Linked DNA regions of Homo sapiens: regions 2, 3 and 4 are each linked to region 1. Evidence: promoter capture Hi-C in 16 types of primary human blood cells and fetal thymus (Javierre and others, 2016). All regions are on one chromosome and are shown on one strand. Each heading gives the region's core, a stretch centred on a gene start or on the middle of the fragment in contact. The rest is flanking DNA. Distances are from core to core; before and after follow the strand shown.

Region 1 (3,500 bases), core at 673-3,172:
AGCTACAAAGAGAAACAGCTACATACCTTCCTCACAATTTTCACACAAGGAAATTCCTTGTGGACAAAGGACAGACAGAATTTAAAGCCATCCCTCTGAGGCTCACCGGAAACAAATGCATATCTGATTGCTTCTTCTGCCCTATTGTTTATGTAAAAATGTAGATTCACTGAGCTAGACTAAATTGTGTATTCAGTGGAAGGTTGATCAAGGACTCAAAAGAATGTAACCTCTTCTGTTTCTTATCTACTTATAACCTGGAAGCACCACCCTTTCTGCAGCTTGGAGTTGTCTTGCCTTACCGGACCGGAAGCAATGTACATCCTACACATATTGATTGATGTCTCATGTCTCCCCAAAATATATAAAAGGAGGCTACACCCCCACCACCCTGGGCACATGTTGGGACCTCCTGAGGCTGTGTCATGAGCACGTTCTTAAGCTTGGCAAAATTAACCTTCTAAATTGACTGAGACCTATCTCAGATATTTCGGGTTCACAGAAAGATACGAATTTTACAGCAGCTGGAGACTAACGGAGTCCCAAACGACATTAATGGCCAGAACCACTTATTTGATTTCCCTCATGGGTGCCCATGAGTAGGGTTTGATAGACCTACCTACCCATCATCTTCAGGAGTGCCTCGCCCTCTCCAACACTTAGCACTTCTCTAGTCAACCTGGGTTTGACTAAAGAGGCTCAGAAAAAGGAACAGATGGACGAGGTTTGAGGCTGGGATTCTACAACGAGGCTTTGCTAAAACTTGCTGAGGGATCTTAGGCAAGTCATTTCTCTCTCATTATCAGTTTCTCCACCTGGAAAATAAGGTGTGTTGCATCAGGCTCTGGAGTTATACGGATGTGGGTTTGAATCTAGGCACTGACATTAGCTGTGTAATCTTGGGCAAGTGGTTTAGCCTCTCAGGTTTGATTTCCTCATTTCTAAAACAGGGATAGTACTAGTACCTACCCCATGGGATTACTGGGCTAATGAAAAGAGATAATGTATGCAGAGTCCCTGGCTCATAAAAGTTATTTTCTCCGATTAATTAAATAAGTGAATATGTGTAAAGTGCTGAAGACAGCGTTTGACACTTAGCGTTTTATCAGTCTTAGCTATCATGATTTTCTTATTCTAGTACATAGAAAGTCCTCAATAAGTAACAGTAGTTATTATTATTTTTGGTCACATGTCCCTGTGTTTCCCTCCAAAACCCTAACCATCCCCAATTCTGGTTTTCTCCCCGCATGCAGCCCAAGGGTTTTCACGTCCCAGTGCGATTGTCTGGGCTGTTTCCTCCGCCTGATGTTCCATTTCTCCTCCTCCCGATCTCAGATGGCTTCTCCTCTGGGATTCCTCTGGTCTTCATCACTCCCTCCTCCCAGGCAGAAGGAATGGCTCCTGGATTTGTGTCCTGCTTAAAAAAAAAAAAAAAAAAAAAAAAAAAAAAAAAAAAAGAAGTCCATATAGCACTTAGTTCTTTGTGCCTGGCGGTTGGGTTAACTCTTTCTGAGCCTGTCTCCGAGAGTGGCGGCCCCCGGGGGACGGCGCTGGGTGAATCACCTCTGAGTGTCACCCAAGGCGTCTGGCACAGTGCGGGACAGTAAACGGGCCGCTGTGCGGAGAGGGGTCCAGTTTAACTCCTAGAAGCCCGAGTCCCCGACCCTCTACAGGCCGCGTCCACCACAAATCCCTCCTCCTGGGGGGCTCGGATTCTCCCTTCCCCGCGGTCTCCCTCACCTGAGCCAGCCCCGCTCCCCCGAGTCTCGCCAGCTCCTCCCCGGCCCCTCCCTCCAGCCCCCTCCGGGCTGGAGCCTCCCCTCCTCCATCCCCTGGCGGAGGCCCGCGGGGCTGGAGGCGGAGCGTCTCGGCAGAGGGCTGGGAGCCGGGTGGGGAGGCGCGGGGCGAGCCGGGGGGTTCCAGACGCGCCTCCACCGCCGGGCAGTGGGCAGGTATGGCTGAGGGCGTGTGAGCGCCGAGCGCTAAGGGCCGCCGCCACCATGCCAGGGGGCGCAGGCGCCGCCCGGCTCTGCTTGCTGGCGTTTGCCCTGCAGCCCCTCCGGCCGCGGGCGGCGCGGGAGCCTGGATGGACAAGTAAGTGGCCAGGCGCGGGGGGATGGAGGCTGGGTGGCCCGGAGACCTGGGAGTAGCCTTGCGGGTCCGGAGCGCTGGGACCGCGACCCCTGCGCCTCCCGCAACTCCGCGGGGCCTGCGCCCCCGCCGTCCCCAGCCTGGGAGCCCGGGCTTTGTTCCCACGTTCTGCGCCCTGGGAGGTGGCAGAGGTCGGGGAAACCCGGCGCAGCCAGAAAACAGCCGGTCCGCTCACTGGCTAGCCTTCCCTTCTCGCCTTCTCCTTCCTCTGTTTTTCTGCTTTTGGCTTCTCTTTCCGCCGTTCTCGGGGCTTATCCTCCTCCGTTTTCTCACGGTCCCTCGTGTCCGCTCCGCCTCTCTCTCTGTCTTTCTCTCTACCGCCCGCTGCACTCGCCAACGCCGAGCATCCCGAGCGCCCTGCCCGTGTGGCCTGGGAGCGGCTTCCTGGGACCAGGCTCGGTGCCTGCCACACTGGTGGGGTAGGACATAAAATGCCCGCGGCAGACTGTGGTAGCCTTGGCTAGGGGATGGCTCGCTGGGTATCTGCAGCCACACACTTCGGATCCCCGAGCTGGCAGGAGCCCTACTGAAGGCCAAGTCAAACGCACCCATTTCACAGATGGGGAAACCGAGGCCCACAAAAGGGAAAGGACTTGCCCAAGGCCACGCCACGGGTTGAGGTCCGCGGTGGCACTGGAAACCAGGGCTCTCTTTCCACGCCAACCCGACGGCCGCCTTCTTTGGTCCTCAGTTTCCCCTTCTGTGAAGCGAAGGGGTCTGACTCGATGTTTCCAGCTAAGATGCCGGGTGATGTCCGTGTTTCTCAGGACTAGTTTCCCAGACACCAATCCCCTCCCCGGCTCCATCCCTCGGGGGCTATAAGCAGATTTCGCGGAAGGCTTGGTCCCGGGGGGCGGTGCCCGGGTTCTCTCATTATGACCGGAGAAGGCTTAGCCCTGGCTCCACCGCTGCAGACGGGCTGGGCTGACTCCAGACTGCTGCTTGGGGGACCAACAGTCAGCGTTTTCAAATAGAGCGAGCACCGGCGGAGCGAGGGTGGGCTGGCTGGACCCCCGGGCCGCCTCAAACCCAGAGGCTGAGAGCTCTTCCGACAGTTCGGAACTTCCAGGGGCCGAGGTCGGGCGGTCCTCCCAAAGGGCTCAAAGGAACCGCCCTTTGAGCTGTTGTTCCGAAGGGGAAACTGAGGCACAGAGGAGGTTCTAGGGTAGCACCAGGCCTGTGTCAGTGCTTAGTGCAGGAGAAAAGCATGAAGAAAGACAAGGAAAGCTAGTTACTGCTCCTAGCACAGGCGCCTTCTCTGAGTTTTGAGTCCTTGGAGAACACTTGCTGTAGAATATCTGGGAAATAACGAAAAGTGTAAAAGAAAATGATCTGCAACCCCCAAATCC
Region 2 (3,500 bases), core at 647-3,146, 200 kb after region 1:
GGTAGAAGCCAAGGACAGTGGGATTCAGTCTTGCCCTGATGCAGACCTGCAGTGAACCTCAGTTTCTTTCTCTGTAACTTGACCCCCAAAGTATGCCATGTGGTTGGGTTGTGCAGCCAGGCAGAGAGTGGTAATAATAGATAAGTTGGTGGAATAGGCATGGCTGAAATCTTCTGAGCCTTGTGGGTCAAAGTTGGGAGTTTGAATTTTAAGTATAACAAGAATCCACCTGTTAGTTTTAAGCTGGAGAGTATAAAATTTATAATGTATGAAGACCCCTTTGCTGTTAATGTTAAGGCATGACCCTCTCTCGGCTCAAGCGTGGAAAGGCAGTGACCCTCAGTGGAGCTGGGTTTGAGACATTTCTCTTAAACAGAGCATAGGGAGAAGGCATTCTTTGTGTGTGTATTTGTGTGTGTGTGTGTTTCTCTGTTAGTATTCCTGAAGCAGAAGGTAAGCCTTCCCACCACGGCCAATGGGAGGAGGGTGGCTGCCAGAGGTGTTCTCTAAGGGTCTCTCACTGGCCTCTAATTTGGACCGGCCAGCTTCCCTGGCTTCATTTGTCTTTCTTGGATCTTAAACTGGTATTTCCTCATGGTAAATCAAATAGGTGGTCAGCCTGTAAGTCACAGCCAAGTTCGATGCTAGCAAATGCGTCTATAAATTTTTTTAATGAGGCCAGATGTAGCTCCGGGATATATGTTACCAAGAATAGATCTTACCAACTAGCAGGGTAGCTGGAAAAGACAAAAACCCTCATGACTTTCCTCCTCCTCATATGTCACAACCTTGTCTGGTTTAACCCCTTTCCTTCTTAACTTTTTGATCCCCTGTTGAAGTTTTATGTCCCCCGCTTCAACTTCATATTAGGAAAAATTCTAAACACATAAAATATTTGAAGGAATAATGAATATCCTTATAACCTTGATGTACAGTCAAAATGAACATTTTGTCATATTTGCTTTAACTTTACTGAGTCATTTGAGAGTAAATGGAAGACATTGAGTCACTTCAGCCTTAAATACCTAAGCATGCAACTCCTAAAAACAAGGACATCCTCCTGTGCAACCTCAGAATTGTGATTCCCCTATATTTAAAATTTTCTTAATATGATACACGATGTAGTCTAGACTAAAATTTCCTCAATTGTTCTTAAAATGTTTCTTTTATAGCTTTTTTGTGGAACCAGGATCTAACCATGATGAGTTTTCCAAAGTGTGAATAATATGCAATTGTTATACAAAAACAACGAACTTCAACGATCCCTCCTTGGAGAACTCCCAGGAGCTTGTGCTTCTGCAGAAGTTTCTCTCTGGGAGGAGTTAATGAGTAAAAGTTATGATTCAGTAGTTTTGCATGTACCAAGTGTCACGCTAATGTTTATTATTCCCACTATATGATAACTACAAGAGAAATAATCATTAGGTGATTAAGAACCACAGTCTGTCTACTGTAAAATTGCTGTGTTGACAGTAAAAGCAAAAAAGGTTTTTAGGGTCAGGATGCAAAAATATTTTACTGTAAGGAACTCACATCAGAATTTAAGGGATTCATGTTTTATTTTTGCATTACTTTCTGTCTTAATTTAATTTTCTTTTCATATTATAGTTAATTTAAAACTGATGGACCACTAGTTTTAAAACTGAGGGATTCCATCAAATATCAAAAACCTTAAGTGTTCCCAACTCACTTAGTCTATGAGGCTAACTGGAGACTTGATTTCTCTTGGCTACAGGCTACCATAAAGATTCCGCGTACATATTTTAAAAAGATTCAATATGATCCTAAGAATGCCAGATTTATGCAGAATGGCATTAGACTCTACCTTTAGGGTTCTGTTCACAGCTGAGTGAAAAACTACCATTTTTAGCTGATTTCCTAAAGAGCATCATCAAACCAGTATTTTCTTAACCTTTAACTCTGATTTTTGAGGCAACAAAAAGACAAATAACACTAATGCATTATGTTTTTGTATGGAGAAAGGAGCTGGAAATGGGAGGTCCAGGCACCCCACAGGGATCGCTGCTTGGATTTTCTGGCAGGAGGGGGACGGGGAGCTGGGCCCTAACCAGAGAGCTTAGTGTTCTAAACATTCCCTTATATGGAGGCACATAATGTGTTTCCCGCATACTGATGTTAAGCCCCGAGGATACAGAGCCTGTGAAGCAGGCAAGAAATTAGGCTTCCCACTTGCACCATGACCCTCTCCCCTTGCACAGAATGTACAAGCCACAGCTTCCAGCCCTCATTTGGGACTCCAGGTGCAGTGGAAAGCCCAACCGAGAGACGCTGTCTCTGCTCCTGTTCCACTGGTCCCTCACTTCCAGCAGCTCTTCATAGCCCTTGCTAAATCTATCAGTAATTTAATCTTACCTGATTCTGTGTGTGATCTTTTCCTGTCAATCTATGCCTTGCTTGAATAGTGCTGTATATTACTATGTTTCACTTCCAACCCCTTCCTCCGTCCCCTGAATTGTCAAGGGGATAATAGAATTATTATTCTGGATCAGAATCATGTCTGGTCAACTGGAAAAGATCTATAGCCAGGAAACTGTGGCCTAGAAAGTGGGCTTTCTCTTCCCTCAAGTATATGCCAATGTCTTCCAAGGTTAGCATTTCCTAAAGTGGAAATTGGGCATACAAGGAAATGTGATTTAATCATAGTGAGCCACACAGTGAGCAAGTTCTTTCCTTTTTCAGTTTCCTATCAATCTTTCTGACAACCTTAATGAGAAAGTCTCCATTTGAAACCAGCACATGTTAGCACCTAATATTTACTAATCTTGTTTTTATCAAAGAGGGAGTAGGGCTTGTGTTCAGAGATCTGGGCAGGCAGCAGCTGGAATTATATGACTTTGCTGTATTTTGATTGATTGAATGTATTATTCTGGTTGCTTTCTAATGATGGCAAGGGATGATTTTTTTAAATGGAAGTGATAGTTTCCTTTTAAAATTAAGTTTCAGTAAAAAGATTATGTAAATAACAGAATCAGTGATCTGCAGATGTGGCAAGAACTGTGACAACTAAGCATCAATGTCAAGACTCTGGCAGCTCTAGTCCAAGAAAATGCTTCTAGATCAGAGATCCTCCACTCTGACTGCACATCAGAGTCAAGTGTGGAGCTTTTAAAACATCTGGGTCTGGCCAGGTGTGGTAGCTCATGCCTGTAATCCCAGCACTTTGGGAGGCTGAGGCGCATGGATCACGAGGTCAGGAGTTCAAGACCAGCCTGGCCAACAGGGTGAAACCTGGTCTCTACTAAAAATACAAAAATTATCCAGGCATGGTGGCAGGTGCCTGTTATCCCAGCTACTCGGGAGGCTGAGGCAGAGAACTGCTTGAACCCAGGAAGTGGAGGTTGCAGTGAGCCGAGATCACGCCACTGCACTCCAGCCTGGGTTACAGAGCAAGACTCTGTCTTTAAAAAAAAAAAAAAAAAAACTAGGTCCATTCTCAAGGATTTTGTTTTCCTTGTGACAGGCCTCAGAGATCAGAATTT
Region 3 (3,500 bases), core at 647-3,146, 170 kb before region 1:
TGATTTTAACATGCACTATCACTTAACTTTTGGGGTTGGCCGGGCGTGGTGGCTCACGTCTGTAATCCCAGCACTTTGGGATGCTGAGGTGGGCGGATCACCTGAGGTCAGGAGTTTGAGATCAGCCTGGCCAACATGGTGAAACCCCATCTCCACTAAAAATACAAAAATTAGCCAGGCATGGTGGCCCATGCCTGTAATCTCAGCTACTCAGGAGGCTGAGGCAGGAGAATGGCTTGAACCCAGGAGGTGGAAGTTGCAGTGAGCCGAGATCGCACCATTGCACTCCAGCCTGGGCAACAGAGCAAGACTCCATCTTGAGAAACACACACACACACGGGCACGCAAACATTAAATGTATACATTAACAGCGAGATCCTTCTCAATTCTGTGCCTTAAGACAATTCATGAATCACATATCCAGCTTGAGTCTTCCAAAAAAACAAAAACCTTGTTTACATGTTCAAAGGAAACAAACTGCACTCTGCCCTTAAACATGTACAATCCTGTCAGAAAGAAAGGCCTTTGACCCCACCAAAGCTACTCCATGCACAAGCTTTCTGGACTCACTGGTGTTTCTGGGAGGAAAAGCACTGGTTCTGGCCCAAGCCCTGACAGTGTAAAAGGCACCTGGCTGAGTATCTGGCTCCTATGACACTACTAATAAGCATCATGTGAAGAGAGCAGGATAATGACTCATAGGAAGAATATTGAGACTATAAATTTCAGCTTTTATTATGAAGGATTCTCAGAGCGTGGGAGGAAAGATGAATTTTATTTTTATTATTTCATGTTAACTCAGCTCTCACAATATGCTGGCTATGGTATATAAAACCTCCCAAAAGAAAGCCGTACACATTCTTTTTTCCTGAGACAGGGTCTCACTGTCACCCAGGCTGGAGTGCAGTGGCACAATCACAGCTCACTCCAGCCTTGACCTCCCTGGCTCAAGCGATCCCCCTAGCTCAACCCACTGAGTAGCTGGGACTACAGGCACGCACTACGCACCCCCAATCTCTCTCTCTTTCTCGTGCGTACACAGTCTCACTCTTTCCCAAGTTTGCAACGCAAAATTCTGTAGAAAGTTTATTTTTGGTCAGGTCTTAGAAGTCTGGATATATAGAGTATTTGGCATTGACAGTAGACAAATGAAAAATCTCTCCTGCTTTGTTTCTAGTGACATAAAGGAGAACAACAGTCCTGCACTTCAGTTTGGATAACTAAATTGGTTCCTCCTGAAGCCACCTTATCCCTCTGTCATGGATTGGCTTATAAATGATGGCTGTGATAAATTAATAAAAGATTCTTAGAAGAAAATGACTTAGCAGACTAGCAGGAGTTTATGTCAGATTAACGGTGTGAGAATAACTCGGAGTTGGAAGCGACACGAAGCAGTGACTTTGGAAAAGACCATGAGAATTCTGGTCTGACCATCATCATTTACCTCTCTTCTAGCAGTATTTTAAAGTCCTTTGTACATTTGCTAGCTAAGGGTGTGTATGGGTGTGTGGGTGTGTGTGTGTGTGTGTGCGCGCGTGCGCGCGCGTGTATATGTGTTATAGGCCATATTAAATCAAGCATTCAAGCATTGTAAACAATTTTCAGGTCATTATAACTAGTTGTGTGAACCTGATGAATAACTTTTTCTTTAAGTTCCAAATTTCCTCATTCATAAAATGAGGTTAAGATAGTTAACTTGTAGATTTATTTCAGGACTAAGTCCCAATAACTCAATTTCTTAGAAACTGATCACATGCTTGCATTATTTCTTTTCCTACACATACATATATACTGCCCCCTGCCCTATGATGTATGTTTATACAAAGAGTGGAAAGACTATTTTTTTCTAACTTGGAAAAAAACAGGGACATTACTTCTTTCCCACACCTCCAAAAATAGAAAGGGCAAGCAGGTATCTTAGCAACAGTCTCTTACTCTAATTAAATAGATGGCAAATTCAGGTCTTTCAATTGGTCTTTCTCAAACGTGTACCTTTAATTTTTTTCTTCCAAAGATTTAATAAGGTGTAATTCCAGGAAGCATTGCTCTCCTTGTATCCTTGTGTGATCAAAAGTACGACACTAGCACCACCTATCAGAGCAAACCGCCAAGGCAAAAATGAGCTCCCCATTCTGAATCAGAGTGCACATTCTCTTTCCAGCCGTCTCTGTGGCAAGCTCCAAATGGATATGAGTCAGGTTTCTATGACCAAATATGACAAAAAAGCATATGCCTTATCTTTGGAGAAAGTTACTCTTCCAATCCCCTTCTCTATTGCCACATCCTTCCAGATCCAGGTCATTTTCAGCTCCACTCTTCCTTCTCCTGCTACATGTAAATTATACCATCACAGCCTGATTTTAAAATAACTGTTCTCAATCATGCCCTTCTTTAAAGACCTAAAACTTGCCTCTTACAGTAACTCTTGTTTTCCTTAGAAAGAAATATTTAATAGGAATGTAGGAACAGAAGCCACGTCTGCGTCTCAGGTGGCGGCAAAACAAGATGGTGGATCCCCGTGCCATGACCCCCAGATGCAGGGCTTATATGCTACAGGGAAAGGGTGATTCAGAAGGGATGTGTAGGACAATTGAAGTAAGATAACGTCAAGGTTGTTCTCATGTAAGGACAGGAATTACAGTAAGTACATGCTCTTACACAAGAAACAACAGATAAATTGGAAATCTTAGAGGCCTTCCCAGAACTGGGTTTAATCAGAAGTCAACATGGTGGACTGGCATTCAAGATGGAGTTGCTTTAGCCTCCACAACTACCTATTCAAAGATTTAAGGACAAAACTGTATCTACATATATATCTCCAAATATACAAAGTTATTAGCTCATTAGGGCAAAGGCAGCTCCCCAGATTCCATAACCTATTAAGGGCCCAGAGAAATGAAACCACAAACTGTAACAGTCACCTTATGAGTCTGCAATGGAAAAATATTTTCTCTTTTCTCTGAAAATAGTTTTAGTTGCCATTCTATAGAAGGGTGCCATGACAGATTGAAAGTACAATGTTTGAATCAGTGACCCGGCAAAGGCACATCAGTGTCTTCCCTATTGTGATGCTATGTCAAACTGGCCTAAACACACACACACACACACACACACACACACACACAGCAGTGTGGTGCAGAAATCATCTGAGACTATTCCTTAGTTGCACTGGAGACAGCTGACTGGAAACAGCTGCAATGAGCTGAGAAAAGTGACAAGGCTGAATTTTAAGCTTGGCCTTTTCTGAAGCCTAAGTACCGCTGTTCTCGGTTTTATGTAAGTCATACTCATGCCCTTTTGGCAACCTCTGTGTAACAGAGATGCTGTTCAAATTTGAGAGTTCATTTTACTGCTGTACACAGGGCTCAGATGTTCTTGATTTTGCCTATTTTCTTGCTCTTTATTTGCAGGAAGTGAAGTCAAAGTTATCCAAAGAATATCACTTTATTAAAATGAAAACATCAAGACACCATATTGTGGGAAATTATTTCAGCAATCAA
Region 4 (3,500 bases), core at 403-2,902, 140 kb before region 1:
CCACTTGATCGAATCAGCTATTGAAGCTTGTGCATGCATCACGAAGTTCTCGTGCCATGGTTTCCAGCTCCATCAGGTCATTTAATATCTTCTTTACACTGTTTATTCTAGTTAGCCATTTGTCTAACCTTTTTTCAAGGTTTTTAGCTTCCTTGCAATGGATTAGAACATGCTCCTTTAGCTCAGAGATGTTTGTTATTACCGACCTTCTGAAGCCTACTTCTGTCAACTCATCAAAGTCATTCTCCATCCAGCTTTGTTCTATTGCTAGCAAGGAGCTGCGATCCTGTGGAGGAGAAGAGGCACTCTGGTTTTAGAATTTTCAGCTTTTCTGCTCTGGTTTCTCCCCATCTTTGTGGTTTTATCTACCTTTGGTCTTTGATGTTGGTGATCTACAGATGGGGTTTTTGGTGTGGATGTCCTTTTTGTTGATGTTGATGTTATTCCTTTCTGTTTGTTAGTTTTCCTTCTAACAGTTAGGTCCCTCAGCTGTAGGTCTGTTGGAGTTTGCTGGAGGGCCACTCCAGACCCTGTTTGCCTGGATATCACCAGTGGAGGCTGCAGAACAGCAAATATTACAGAACAGCAAATATTGCTGCCTGATCCTTCCTCTGGAAGCTTCGTCCCAGAGGGTCACCCACCTGTATGAGTAGTCTGTCGACCCCTACTGGGAGGTGTCTCCCAGTTAGGCTACATGGGCGTCATGGACCCATTCAAGGAGGCAGTCTGTCTGTTCTCAGAACTCAAACACTGTGCTGGGAGAACCACTGCTCTCTTCAGAGCTGTCAGACAGGGATGTTTAAGTCTGAAGAATTTTCTGCTGCCTTTTTTTCAGCTATGCCCAGCCCACAGAGGTGGAGTTCTATAGAGGCAGTAGGCCTTGCTGAGCTGTGGTGGGCTCCACCCAGTTCGAGCATCCAGGCCACTTTGTTTACCTACTCAAGCCTCAGCAATAGCGGACGCCCCTCCCTGCACCAGGCTCCAGCCTGGCAGGTGGATCTCAGACTGCTGCGCTAGCAGTGAGCAAGGCTCCATGGGGGTGGGACCCACTGAGCCAGGCACGGGAGAGAATCTCCTGGTCTGCCAGCTGCTAAGACCATGGGAAGAGCCCAGTATTTGGGCGGGAGTGTCCTGTTTTTCCAGGTACAGTCTATCATGACTTCCCTTGGCTAGGAAAGGGAAATCCCCTGACCCCTTCTGCTTCCCATGTGAGGTGACGCCCCACCCTGCTTCGGCTCTCCCTCTGTAGGCTGCACCCACTGTCCAACCAGTCCCAAAGAGATGAACCAGGTACCTTAGTGGGAAATCACTCGTCTTCTGCGTCAATCACACTGGGAGCTGCAGACCAGAGCTGTTCCTATTCAGCCATCTTGGAACAGACCTCCCATGGTAGCATCTTTAAACTGAAATATTGGACAGAGAGTTTCCATTGCTGTAGTATTTTGCTTAATTATTATCTTTATAGCAGGGATAATAGTTGACAAAAAGGAAGCATGAAAGTTTTACCATCACTGAGTCTGCTAGGCCTTTTTTGGGGTTTAGTAATGCAGTTTTAAATGAAACATGCTGCTTTTGGATTAACACCGCTAGTAAAGTAGAGGAAAATCTACAGGTACTTAAAAATCAAATCAGCTGGGCATGGCAGCTCATGCCTGTAATCCCAGCACTTTGGGAGGCTGAGGCAGGCAGATGACCTGAGGTCAGGAGTTCGAGACCAGCCTGGCCAACATGGTGAATTCCTGTTTCTACTAAAAGTACAAAAAATTAGCCGGGCATGGTGGCACGCACCTGTAATCCCAGCTACTCAGGAGGCTGAGGCAGGAGAATTGTTTGAACTCGGGAGGCGTAGATTGCAGTGAGCCGAGATCACACCATTGCACTCCAGCCTGGGCAACAACAGCAAAACTCCATCTCAGAAAAAAAAAAAATCAAATCATAATTATTGACAGGCTCAGGAAAAATGACAGCTTCAGCTCTGAGTGGCTACAATCCCTTTTTAATAAATTCCAGTCTTCTTTATGGAATTGGTTAACCCCTTTTTTAAGCACTCTCTTGCTTATATGTCTTGTATTGATATTTGGAGCCTATATACTCAATACTATAACTCAAATTGTTTCTTCTCACCTAGAAGCAATCAAACTCCAAACGGTGCTGTAAACTGAAACACACATGGAGATGCCATTCTTCTGAGGACCCTTAGATCCACCCCAGGAGGAGCCCTAGCTGCTGTTCCCCCATGTGACTCCCCTTTTCAGCAGAAAGTAGCCAGAAAGAACCATAACCCAAAACCCTCTAACAGCAGTTAGTGTGGCATCTCCATAGCGGGGAATGTTGTAGGAAGAGAGGTCCTTGGGAAGTTTTCTTTTTTTCTTTTTTTTTTGAGACAGAGTCTCACTCTGTTGCCCAGGCTGGAGTGCAGTGGCGCAATCTCGGCTCACTGCAAGCTCCGCCTCTCAGGTTCACCCCATTCTCCTGGCCCAGCCTCCTGAGTAGCTGGGACTACGGGTGCCCACCACCACACCCGGCTAATTTTTTTTTTTTTTTTTTGTATTTTTAGTAAAGACGGGGTTTCACTGTGTTAGCCAGGATGGTCTCTATCTCCTGACCTCGTGATCCTCCCGCCTCGGCTTCCCAAAGTGCTGGGATTACAGGCGTGAGCCACCGTGCCTGGCCAAGGGAAGCTTTTGTTTTTTAAAGCATCTCTGGAAAAGTTTCTCTTAAATCCCTGGCTCTTAGCAGCAGCCCACCAACCTTTGATATGCAAATACTGACCATTAGAAAGTGGGCCCACCCAAACATGGAGATTCCTGTGGCCTTCCTGCCCTTTCCCCACATGTTCCTGGCAACATGGCCACCTCCAAATATCCCCAGGAGTGTAGAACATCATGGCGCCCTACATTTGCATATTAAAAGGCTAGGGTGGGAGGGTCAGCTTTTTTACAGGCTACGTGAATGTCATGCCTAGTCAAACCAATCCCTTGAGCCCTGTGCAAATCAAACACCACCTCCAGCCTCTGCATATATACCTGGCTGGTGTCCCTGCCAGGTGGGGACCTCCTCTTTCAGCTTTGGAGCCCCCATCCCTGTGTCTCTGTATGGGGGAGCTTCTTTCTTCTGTCTTCTCCCTTCCTTCTTACCTATTAAACTCTCCGCTCCTTAAAAGCAAAAAAAAAAAAAAGAAAGAAAGAAAAAACAGGGTTTCCCCATGTTAACCAGGCCGGTCTCCAACTTGTGGGCTCAAGCTATCCGCATGCCAAAGCGCTGGGATTACAGGTGTGAGCCACTATGCCCGGCCCTGAATTCATGATTTTTAAAAATGTATTTTCCAGGCCCAGTGCGGCGGCTCATGCCTGTAACCTCAGCACTTTGGGAGGCCAAGGCGGGCAGATTGCTTGAGGCCAGGAAATTGAGACCATCCTGGCCAATGTGGTGAAACTCTGAGCTAAAAATACAAAAATTAGCCTGGCATAGTGGGGCATGCTTGTAAATCCCAGCTGCTC

What was found. Contacts are between HindIII fragments. The CHiCAGO score rates a contact against its expected background, and 5 or more counts as called.
Region 2: a contact is called between a fragment that was not itself captured here and the fragment with the promoter of ADAM19 in region 1, in 1 of 17 cell types (endothelial precursors). The highest score is 5.9, in endothelial precursors.
Region 3: a contact is called between a fragment that was not itself captured here and the fragment with the promoter of ADAM19 in region 1, in 1 of 17 cell types (neutrophils). The highest score is 7.2, in neutrophils.
Region 4: a fragment that was not itself captured here is called in contact with the fragment with the promoter of ADAM19 in region 1 in 1 of 17 cell types (activated CD4 T cells); the score reaches 5.8 in activated CD4 T cells.

The regions. Positions count from the first base shown.
Region 1 is chr5:157,574,197-157,577,696 of GRCh38, reverse strand. ADAM19 (ADAM metallopeptidase domain 19) reads left to right here and starts at 1,922. Exons shown (of 23, transcript NM_033274.5): 1 at 1,922-2,094. The coding sequence starts at 2,001. It overlaps LOC124901121 (a long non-coding RNA gene), which reads right to left and starts at 2,718. Exons shown (of 2, transcript XR_007059018.1): 1 at 2,327-2,718; 2 at 1,087-1,417. RefSeq lists enhancers at 1-523, 2,381-2,460, 2,697-3,226 and a silencer at 1,771-2,210. The HindIII fragment of the contact is 8,826 bases long and covers 445-3,500 here.
Region 2 is chr5:157,369,822-157,373,321 of GRCh38, reverse strand. The region is part of intron 26 of CYFIP2 (cytoplasmic FMR1 interacting protein 2); the gene reads right to left. The region is part of intron 1 of NIPAL4-DT (NIPAL4 divergent transcript); the gene reads left to right. Among named protein-coding and RNA genes, the nearest start is that of FNDC9, 26 kb to the right of the region's middle. The HindIII fragment of the contact is 4,441 bases long and covers 1-3,500 here.
Region 3 is chr5:157,747,619-157,751,118 of GRCh38, reverse strand. The region is part of intron 1 of LSM11 (LSM11, U7 small nuclear RNA associated); the gene reads right to left. Among named protein-coding and RNA genes, the nearest start is that of LSM11, 5.7 kb to the right of the region's middle. The HindIII fragment of the contact is 2,676 bases long and covers 559-3,234 here.
Region 4 is chr5:157,718,831-157,722,330 of GRCh38, reverse strand. No RefSeq gene overlaps it. Among named protein-coding and RNA genes, the nearest start is that of THG1L, 11 kb to the left of the region's middle. The HindIII fragment of the contact is 2,063 bases long and covers 621-2,683 here.